3 separate regions of the Homo sapiens genome follow, and all the other regions are linked to region 1. Evidence: promoter capture Hi-C in 16 types of primary human blood cells and fetal thymus (Javierre and others, 2016). All regions are on one chromosome and are shown on one strand. Each heading gives the region's core, a stretch centred on a gene start or on the middle of the fragment in contact. The rest is flanking DNA. Distances are from core to core; before and after follow the strand shown. Region 1 holds the start of CAHM (colon adenocarcinoma hypermethylated). Region 2 holds the start of TFB1M (transcription factor B1, mitochondrial). Region 3 overlaps PHF10 (PHD finger protein 10).

Region 1 (3,456 bases), core at 450-2,949:
GTCAAAAATGGTGGAATATTGTCATAAAATTCAACCTGATTTAAAGGATAGGGCAAGGAAAAAAAGCAAAAAAAAAAAAAAAAGCTTTAGAATAAAATATAATTGGATTATAATCCCAGACACAGGACTCACTAGCTATATTCTTGGGCAAGTTACTTAACTTCATCTTTCTTGGGTTTCCCCTTATTTGTAAAATGGGGATAACAGTCTAACCTAAGCCCAAGTTGTACTGATGATTAAACGAGATATGCATGTAGGGCATTCAGCATAGTGCCTAGGAGCTTAATAAATAAGCAGGCCATTAAGAAGGGGATTGCATCTTTTACACTAGCAGCATCAAAACCTTGATTTTGATTTTTCTAGGTACTGAAACAGCCTTCATTACTTAGAGACCATAGCTTTTTTGCAAGTTACTATTCCCTGCATTTAGAAAGTTCATCTTTAAACAGGCAATTCAGTAAGTAAATATTCTATGGCTCTAAAACAGATACGGCTGTTGGAGACTTTAAAACATCTGACAGTTACATTTTTAATGTTGTCTACCAAGGCTATTACATTTCCTCTGTCAAAGTAACTTAATTTTAAAAACGAACTCTGTGCTTGTTAAACGAAAAGGCCAGAAGGCTACTGGCTACTCAGCGTTCATTTGAAATTCTTATAGTGCCTTCAGTACAATTCAAACTTAGAGGTGATTCTCACAATTCATGTGAAGCAACATTTTACAAAAAAAATCACCTACGTTCACTGTTAAGTCAGAAGACAGAATGATTAACAAAATCTCAGCCGCGAATTACTCTCACGATGGCCAACTGGATATTAAATAACTCTGCATTATTTTAATGGAATGTTATAAAGGATTTGCAACAAAATGCAGACGTAGATTTAGGGACTGCCGACTTCTATAGATCAAGGACTTCATTGGTGCAGCTGAGGAAATTCTTCCAAACAAGTCTAAATGTTGGAAATCCACCAAACTGCAGAGAAAGACCTCTTGCCTCCGTATTCTTTCTTCATCTGTAAAAATGTTGACTTCTGCTTTTCAGACTACGCGCACAGCCTCTTTATTTCCTACTGCGGCTTCATTCCCTCACGGAACACTGACGCCATCGCGAAGGAAGCATTTCGAGCACGACTGACGCTCCCCTTATTATTTGCTAAGCCGCTGCGCTCGGGTCTGGCTACGATTTGCTTTCAGAATAACGGGAAGGTGCAACAAGATCGCTTCCCTAGAGGCGCGTCGCCCGCGTGGCCCGGACCCCCCACGCCCGCCCGCCGCCCCGTGGGTGCGCACGCGTGTCCGCGCAGGCTTCCCGCCTGGCGAGTGCAAGGCTCCTCTCCGCCGTGCTGCTTTCCAGCCTCTCAGCAAATCACGAACACCGAAAGAAGCCACGGCGGCGACGGGAGGGGCGTCGCGCGTGCTTCCCTCGGCGACAAAGCGGGAGCCGGGCGCGCCGGCCGAGGGCGCCCGGCGCAGAGTCCCGCAGAGGCGGACGCCGCGGCACGCGCCTCGAAAAGCCTCAAACTCTTATCCTCGGCTCTCCCGCCCCACCTCCGCCCCGCAGCCAAGACCCGCGCCGTGGCGGGCCCGACGGCCAAGGAAAGCCCACCAGCCCTCCGCACCGTGGGCGACGGGCCAAGACCCGGCCCTAAACGGCCAGACCCAGCCCCTAGTCGGCTGCCGCCCCCGCCCCACGCAGGCGCGCTCCGGGGCCCTCCCCTCCCCCACCGCGCGCTCGCGGGGCCCGACGGGGGCGGAGCGACCCTCGGAAGGGGCGTGGCGACCGGGCTCGACGCGCGCACGCGCTCTGGAGCCCCACGGCTACGTGTCGGGCCACGTGATGCCCACCCCGAAAGTCCCCCGTGAAGCAACAGGACGTTAAAAAAAAATTTCTCTTCTGCGGGGTGGATAAGAGGTTCTGAAAAAACTATAGTAACGGGAGGCGAGGCGGAGGCAGCGCTGGCGCGTCCCGCTGGAATTCCTCTCGCCTGCCGCGCCAGCCCCGACCGCGCCCGCAGCCCCACCCGCCCCGTGCCGTGGAAAGCCCCGCGCCCCCCCCGCGGCCGTCGGCCCCGCAGCCCACACCCACCCGCCCCGGGCGCCCCGCACGGCGGCGACCCAGTCCTTGCGCCCAGGCCCGCCGAGCGCCGCAGTCCGTCACACTCCCGTTGCCCCCGTCGCCCGCCCCGCCGGGGAGGCAGGGAGGAGGGGGCGCGGCGCCGGCGGCTGCCCCGGTCGCGGGGCGGCGGGCAGCAGGCAGCGGGAGCGCGCCGGCCGGGACCCGCTAACGGCCGCCCTGCGCGGCCCCGCCCGCCGCCCGCCCCCGGCCCTCCCCGCGCCGCTGCCCCTCCCCCCGCCGCCGCCGCTGCTGCCGCCGCCGCTGGCAGCGCCGCCTGAACTGAGGCGAACTCCGCCGCCAAGTGAGTGAGGAGGAGGAGGAGGAGAAGGAGGAGGAGGAAGAGGAGGAGCGCAGTCGGAGCGCGGCGGCAGCGGCAGAGGCGCCGCGGCGGGGACCAGCCCAGAGAGACCCCCCGAGCCCGCGGCACAGGCGGCGGCGGCGCTGAGCGGGCTCGACCAGCCGAGCGAGCGGCGGCCCCGGCTCCTCCTCGTCCGGCGCCAGCAGCCCGCGCCCCGCGCCCGCACTCGGCCAGCCGAGACCCGCCTCCCGCCCGCCCGCCGGCCTCGTGAGGGACGCGCCGAGCCGGGCGGCCGAGAGCGGCGGCGGCTGGGAGCGCGTCGGGCCCGGGCGGAAAGTGCCTGCGGGGGGCGGGCGAGCGCGCGGTGCCGGCCGCCCCGGGGCTCGGCGCGGGAGCCAGAGCGGGAGCCGGCGCGGAGCGGGACGCCGGGTCCCGAGCGGCCCGCGGCCGGGGCTCGCCCCCGCCCCTCCCTCCTCTCCGGCGGCGGCGGCGGCGGCGGCGGGCGGAGTGAGCTGCGGAGCCTGGAATATGGTCGGGGAAATGGAAACGAAGGAGAAGCCGAAGCCCACCCCAGATTACCTGATGCAGCTGATGAACGACAAGAAGCTCATGAGCAGCCTGCCCAACTTCTGCGGGATCTTCAACCACCTCGAGCGGCTGCTGGACGAAGGTGAGCGTCTCCAGGGCCCCGGCCCCGGCCCGACCCCCGCCGGGGCGGCCCCTTTCCCCGCTTGGGATGGTGGGGAGGGCGGGAAGGTCACGGCCGGGCGGGACCGAGCGCCGGGGGGACTGGGAGGCCAGGAGGGCGCACAAAGGAGGTGCCGGGCCGGGCTTGCGGCGGGCGGGCGGGCCGGGGTGGACCCGCCGGTGCCGGACGCCCCCTGCCCGGCCGGGACCCCGCGCCGCTGGCGTCCAAGTTGGCGCGTTGCGGAGGGCTGCGGGGTGAGCCCTGCGGCCCCTCTAGCTTCGGCGGTCACATTTCCGAGAGGTCGGCGGGGGCTGCGCGGACTCGGTGGTCCTCGCCGAGCCCTCCCGAGAGCA
Region 2 (3,456 bases), core at 483-2,982, 8.1 Mb before region 1:
CCTGAAGATAAAGGCTCATGAGAAAATGTATTTGAAGGATTTTAAAAAATACACAGACCTATAACTTCTGCCCTGAGAATGGTGATTTATATTTAGAATGTGGCTAATAACAAGCAGAAAAGGCTGGTACTAGCTATTACTAGAACCAAAGAATTTTAGAGTGGGCAATCTTTTAAAGTAGTAGGCCCTTCTTCCAATTAAAAGATGAGGAAACTACTGGACATGGTGGCTCACACCTGTAATCCCAACACTTTGGAAGGCCGAGGCGAGTGGATCACTTGAGATCAGGAGTTTGAGACCAGCCTGAGCAACATAGTGAAACCCTGTCTTTACTAAAAACACAAAATTAGCTAGGCACGGTGGCTCACGCCTGTAATCCTAGCTACCTGGGAGGCTGAGGCACGAGAATCACTTGAACCGGGGAGGCGGAGGTTGCAGTGAGCTGAGATCATGCCATTGCACTCCAGCTTGGGCAACAAGAGTGAAACTCCATCTTAAAAAAAGAAAAAAAAAAAAAAGAGAAAACTTGAGTTAAATTATTTTATCCAAAGTCATATTGGTACAGGCAGAATAAAGACTACATGTCCAAGAAATAAAACATTTTATGTTTTCTGGAGTGTGCTTCATTTAAGTGAAAATGAACTTTTTGGGTGTGATTTACTGCTCTTTTCAACTTCTGAAGTGGGACTAAATAGAATGAAATATGAAAATCTCAAAACCTAAGTACTCCAGCCGTGACTTAGTAGACGTATTTGTAATATATTTTTGCAACCTCATCTCATAGAACATCACTAAGCAATGGTGATGGTGGTTAAACCAATATATAAATACATTCGTCAAAACTCATCAAATTGAGCACTTCAAACTTATTAATTTTATTGCACATAAATTATATCTCATAAAAAGTAACTTTAAACAATTAGGTGTGGGAATGTAAACTTGCTAAAAGTAAGCTCCTCGAGGAAACACCGCCTTGTTCACGCCCATATCCTACCCCCGGCACTAGCACAATGTTGCTTGTGTAATATGTACTTATGAATGAATATTAGCGCCCCCGAGGCTTAGACTGAACAGGTAAACGTTTAAAAAACGAATCATACGAGGGATACTCTTTTCACCAAGTTATTGATAAAATCCTCGCATCAATTTAAATTCTGGTAACTTTAAACTGCATGTAAAGCAACTGCAGTCAGCATGTGCTGTACTATTTCAGAATGATTGATTTCACAGTGACCCAGATTCCAATATTCACTAGCGCCTTTCACGACCCATGAACCCTTCCTCCCCTAGGGAGCTTGGCATTTATGCAGCCTGCCGGCAGGCTACACCCCCCCGAACGCGGAGTTTTGTGAGCAATCAACGCACTTCACGTGTCTCCTGGGCGGTGGGACCGGAGTTCTGATACAAAGAGGTCGAAGGACCTGACCAAAAGCCCGTCGCACGCCAGTGCCTGGACACCCGCCCGCGGGGACGTGCAAGACCCCCCGGCCCACGCCCCCACGGACACTGGGGAGACATCCGGGGAGCACTGCTAAGCCATCCACCTGTCAGCCTCAAGTCCAGGAGGAAATTCTGTGATAGCTGCTTCGCTGCTTGCAGTCTTAACAACTTAATGATTTCTCGAATCGTGGGCAACGGAGGGAGACGGCAAGTGCTGAGTTTTCCGGAGGCAGCCATGATACGCGGCAAGCACCATCCAACCCTACCTCACCCAGGACCTTCACCGCCGCTCCGAAAGAAACGCGCAGGGGAGGAACCTGCGAGACCTAAGGCCCGCCTCGGAGTCAGCCCCATTGGTCAGACCTATCCCACCGGAAGCGATGACCGCGGACAGGAAATTCCCGGCGTGCTGAGAGCGCATGCGCTAAGTCCTGCCGCGAGAAGGGCAGGCTGGGTGGTCGGCGGCTTCCGCCTGTGAGAGCCGGGGGAGAGCCGGGTGGACTAGGCTTCTCCTGGGCGGGCTATGGGGAGAGCGCCCAGGAGGGCGGGACGAGGCGGGGCCTGGACAGGGTGGGGTTTTTCGGAGGAGTTGCTCTGAGAGGTGCAGCCGGTTTACTCCCGCCCTGAAGTTCCCAAGGGCTTCCGGCTCTTTAACGTTCTAAATACCTGTCTGTGAATATTAGAGGAAAAGCGGGTGCTTAGAGGCAAAGCTACTGTTTGTTAGCAATTCTTTCTTACTGTGAGGCGTTTTTAGAACCGCCGCTCTGCAGATGCTGCATGATGGGTTTTTAACTTCGTTCAGCCTCAGTTTTTTCATCAGTTAAATGGAGCTAATGTCTACCTCAAAATTGTGAGCACTAAATGAGAGAGATCGCCTGGTGTGCACGTTCAGAACATAGTGCACGCATGGCATTGGGTAAGCTCCCACGTGATCAGTGGTGGCTGTTATTATTTGGCAGATGAATAATTGGCCAGTGTAAAGAGGTCATTCGATTTGCTAGGATTACAGCTAAGAACAGAGAGAAGACTGAAATATGAGTTCTGTCTTTCCGTTATACGAGATAAAAACAACGAAGCAAAAAAAAAAAAAAATTAAAGTTTCTCTGATAGGTGGGAGAATTTTGCTGTTTTAACCCTGCTTATGTTTGGACATTGCTGCGTTGATCACAAATGAATTTTAAAGTTTCTGTTCCTCAATTAGTAAGTTTTTAAAAAAGCTAATGGAAAACGAAACAACTATGGGTATGGATATAAAAATGAGGAGTACTTTGAAATTCCAGTGGAAAACTCAACCACCTTCTATAAAAGCTGTTTTAAAAGGAACTGAGATAATCTCCTAGCTTTAAAAAATAGTGATGACTACCATAGAGGTAAGGAGATTTGCCCAACGTGGCATCAAAATGTAGACTGGAAGTACAAACTCTTGATTCAGATATCTTATCGTCCAAAACACAGTATACCTGACAAAGCATTATTTCACAGTTATATTCATTATTTCCCGTACTCCTCACAATGGTCCCATGTGAATGAGATTATTATTCTTAGTTTGCTGTGAAGAAATAGGGGAGGTGAGGTCATTTGACAATGCCCAGAGTCAGACAGCAAAGTACAGAGAGAAGACAACCTGAGTTGTGTTTTTTCTGAGTTCTGATCTCACTGGCCACACTCAAGTATCAGCTTATTATTTTTAAGTTAATATGTGTTAATTTTGTAACATCTAAATATATAGAAATACGAATCTAGGTGTAAACATAAGCTTACAGTTTTCATATGACTATTTAAAACAATTGCAATAAATATATACAAAACCAATACAAATGGTCTTATTAATTGACAAGGATGAACACTGTTAAATCACGACACTTAGTGCTAACTGGCAGGTTTTCTTTTTTTTTTTTTTTTAAGTTTCAGCCTACCAGTGATCCAGTGTGCCATGTAATGACTGAATGTTCTCATTAGTTTTCTGGAGTCAAACTATTACCAAATCTTTGTTCAATTTTTTTTCCATTGTCGCTT
Region 3 (3,456 bases), core at 826-3,325, 6.3 Mb after region 1:
CAAACTCTGAACACCAATGCTCACTGCAGCATTATTCACCTTGGCCAGAAGGTGGAAACCCAAATGCCCATCAACATCTGAATGGATAAACAAAATCAGTATATACATAAAATGGAGTATTATTCAGCCTTAAAAACAGAAAAAAAGTCTGACATATGCTACAAAGATGAACCTTGAAGATATTCAAAGTTCTAAGAGAAATAAGCCAGCCACAAAAGGACAAATATTTTATGGTTCCACTTATATGAAGTAACTAAGTAGTCGTATTCACGGAAATAGAAAGTAGAATGATGGTTGCAAGGCGCTAAATAGAGGGAGAAAGGGAGGTTATTGCTTAATGGTTATAAAGTTTGGGGTAGTGAAAGTTTTGGAAATGGATGGTGGTAATGGCTGCACAACACTGTGAATGTAACTGATGCCAATGAATTTCACACTTAAAAATTGTTAAAATGATTAATTTTATGTATGTATGTATTTTACTATCATAAAATTGCTTTTTAATTACACTCAGTAGCAAGACCAACTTTGATGGCACATTATAGAACAGGAAGAAAATATTCTACAATTTTTAATAATTGCCTTTGCCAGAGCTGGGGGAAAGGGAAGAGGATGTTAAGGCAAAGAGGAACATCACAAAAAATATTAATAACCGATAAAATGACAGTACCCAAGATCTTGACTTGAAGTTTCACAACTCCTAGAACTATCTCCTGAGCCCATTCGCCTCCTTTTGGATGGCTGGGTCCCATCATTTGAATTATCTTCATTATCATCCTATACATTTAAAAGATTCAAAAATAATAATTAGAGAAAGAATAAAAGAACAGTAAGTCTCAATAAATGAAAGACTGTCTAAGGACAACTAGTCATACAAGTATTAACTTCATATTATAATTAAAAGGGTCCAAGAGTTTGGCATGAGCAAGACCTGGAATAAAATTTAAAACTGATCTTCAATCCAATCCAAATAAGAACATTTTCAATGAACCCGTAAATGCAAATCTGCTTTGGTTTCTGCTCTTCATAAACATATCAAACTGCTGCATCACTCTAGGATTAAAGCAAACTCTCCTACCCAAGCTCAGGGGGAAAAAAATGTATGGATCATTTACAGTTCTCAATTCAACTTGAAGCCGGTTCATAGGACTATTTTAATTGACTACTTTAGGCATTTATGTCCCTGTGAAAAGGGGACATATGAGACCGAAAACAATTCTAACTATTCACTCTTCCTCTTACACTGCTAAAATTTAGCAAAAATATACCCTAATAAGGGTCATCAATCTATAATATAGCAGCACACACACCAAAAAAAGAAGCTTGAGAGGGGGAGGGGAATTTTTTTTTTAAAGAAGATTATATATTTTTAATGTAATCCATTATGTGGCAAGAACATCAAGGTTATAAATTCAACCATTTCATTCAGAAAAAGTATCAGATGTTAGGAAATTGATTTATTTACTTATTAGCCAAGGCTTAAAGTCTAAAAATCATAATTTTTTAATGTAATATAGCTTTCAACGCTAATCCAATTTTGCTAAATACTATAGTCCTCTTGCTACATATTAAAATGAAAGCAATCCTGCAAAAGAATATAAAGAGGCAATATGGTATAGTGGCCAGGCATGCCAGAGCTGGACGGCCTGGGTTCTCACTGGGCACTGTCCCTCACTAGCTGAGTAGGTTATTCTCTGTGAGCATCTCCTTATCCGAAAATTTGAGACTATAATAGTGCCCCATTACATGGCTAATTCAATGATTAAACGAGCTACTATATTAAAAGTACTTAGAACAAGGACTGGCGAGTTATCTGATAAATATTAGTTAAAATGATGATTATGATGATAATAAAGTCTCAAATGTCTCTAGCTCCTAGGAATTAACTGGTTCTTTTCCAAATAGTAAAATATATATTCTTTTTCAGTCCTTATAAAATAAGCATTTCATTAAAGAGCTTTGCATAGTCTAAATCTACTCTCTGAAAATTTGCATAAGTATCTGCATACAACTGCAACACTGCATATTCAATACTTTCAACATAACTCATTTTAAACATTCCAGTATTTTTTCTATTTTACTGGTGAGCATTTTAAGGATTTTTATATCCTTAAACTTAAAAACATTTTCCTTTAGCTAAAAAGTTGAGACACTCAAAAATATACAAAAATAAAGTTAAAAATGCAAAGTGCTCAAAAAAGCTGAGACTACAATTTCATCAAGTGTTTTAAATTACTACTACAAATTCTAGGCAAAGGCATTATTATATAAAGTGAGCATCTGGGCAGCGGGCCTTTTTCTTGAGGGAGGTAGTAACAGCAATATTGTTCCCAATACATGACGGAATAAGGTAAGAATTTCCGTGTAACCGCAATACTGATACAGAGGCCCATGTTTTCAAAGACTCCCAAACATACTAAATCAGAGATGTGCCTTCCAGAGTTACAGGTGGTTTCCAACTACAGATCAGATGAATTTCTATGCATCACATCCTTCCTAGGGCTCAGGGGTCAAGAATGCACTCAGGGGGCACTGGCTCAGTGCCCTCCAGGTGCCGGGCCAGACGTCAAATGCTGGAAGTGCAAGGATGTGCATTCAGAGTCTTACAATCTAGTTACTTCCATTGACGACAGCCTTTGAGGAACCTTCAAAATGAGTCTCACAGCACGGTGGACGTGCGCAACGGGAAAAGCTCCCAAGCAGGCGCAGCCCGGCTAGGCTGCTACAGGACGGCTTCCCCTGCCAACGCGCACACGGCACACCGCGCACCGCACGAAGGCTGGCTGGCTCTGCAGCATTCCAGTTCCCACCGCCTTCTAATTTCAATCCAATTTCAAGCTTCCAGGCTTTTAAAACATCATTCCTCCCTTCCAACTTTCTGTCACAAACTGCTAGCCTAACTTTAGAACCAAAACGTTTTGATGCGTGACACTACTGCTCATCTCCATTTTCTCCACAAGCACCAATTTCTTTTCACCTCCTCAAGCAGTAAAAAGTTTTAACAGACTTCCGCTGAAAACATCCGGACGCTTGCGTATTAACTTAGTTATTACAGTAAGTTCACTGAGTGTGTTGATTTTCCATATCGTTCGCCACTCGGTTTTTGCAGTAAGCGTTCAAACACTTCGGCAAACTATGCGCGGAATGAACGCTGAGCGAACGCGCGCTTCTGCAGGCCCCTCCGAGGCCAACTCTCTCGGCCCCGGGCGCGTTCCGTCCCACGGCTGGCCTAGGAGGAGGCGTTTTGGGGACAAGCTTGTCAAGCAGGGCCGGCTGCCAACTTCGGGGAAGCCGCGCCGCGTCCCCCGCCCGCCCGCACTTGTTGCTCGCTAGAGGCCGCGGGCTCACCTCGGGGCCCCGCCTCGCCGACCACCCCCGGTCTCAGGCGCGGCGCCCGGCCTGGGCCCACGCCCCCGAGACGCTGGGCGGCCGCCGGTGGGACTGGGCCCACGCCCCGGC

The links. The method cuts DNA at HindIII sites, captures the fragments that hold promoters and counts their contacts. A CHiCAGO score of 5 or more calls a contact.
Region 2: a contact is called between the fragment with the promoter of TFB1M here and the fragment with the promoter of CAHM in region 1, in 1 of 17 cell types (naive CD8 T cells). The highest score is 8.5, in naive CD8 T cells.
Region 3: a contact is called between a fragment that was not itself captured here and the fragment with the promoter of CAHM in region 1, in 1 of 17 cell types (fetal thymus). The highest score is 5.7, in fetal thymus.

The regions. Positions count from the first base shown.
Region 1 is chr6:163,412,251-163,415,706 of GRCh38, forward strand. It overlaps CAHM (colon adenocarcinoma hypermethylated), which reads right to left and starts at 1,700. Exons shown (of 1, transcript NR_037593.1): 1 at 815-1,700. QKI (QKI, KH domain containing RNA binding) reads left to right here and starts at 2,468. Exons shown (of 8, transcript NM_006775.3): 1 at 2,468-3,085. The coding sequence starts at 2,944. LOC124901234 (basic proline-rich protein-like) reads left to right here. Exons shown (of 4, transcript XM_047419614.1): 2 at 364-1,835; 3 at 1,999-2,418; 4 at 2,715-2,926. The coding sequence starts at 956. The coding sequence ends at 2,926. RefSeq lists silencers at 1,107-1,886, 1,977-2,796, 3,047-3,096, 3,297-3,456 and enhancers at 1,720-2,372, 2,373-3,026. The HindIII fragment of the contact is 4,236 bases long and covers 83-3,456 here.
Region 2 is chr6:155,312,752-155,316,207 of GRCh38, forward strand. TFB1M (transcription factor B1, mitochondrial) reads right to left here and starts at 1,733. Exons shown (of 7, transcript NM_016020.4): 1 at 1,545-1,733. The coding sequence starts at 1,677. RefSeq lists enhancers at 1,508-1,827, 1,826-2,816, 1,898-1,947, 2,498-2,547 and a silencer at 1,998-2,077. The HindIII fragment of the contact is 4,007 bases long and covers 1-3,194 here.
Region 3 is chr6:169,720,338-169,723,793 of GRCh38, forward strand. It overlaps PHF10 (PHD finger protein 10), which reads right to left. Exons shown (of 12, transcript NM_018288.4): 2 at 668-774. Among named protein-coding and RNA genes, the nearest start is that of PHF10, 2.4 kb to the right of the region's middle. RefSeq lists a silencer at 3,265-3,456. The HindIII fragment of the contact is 1,516 bases long and covers 1,318-2,833 here.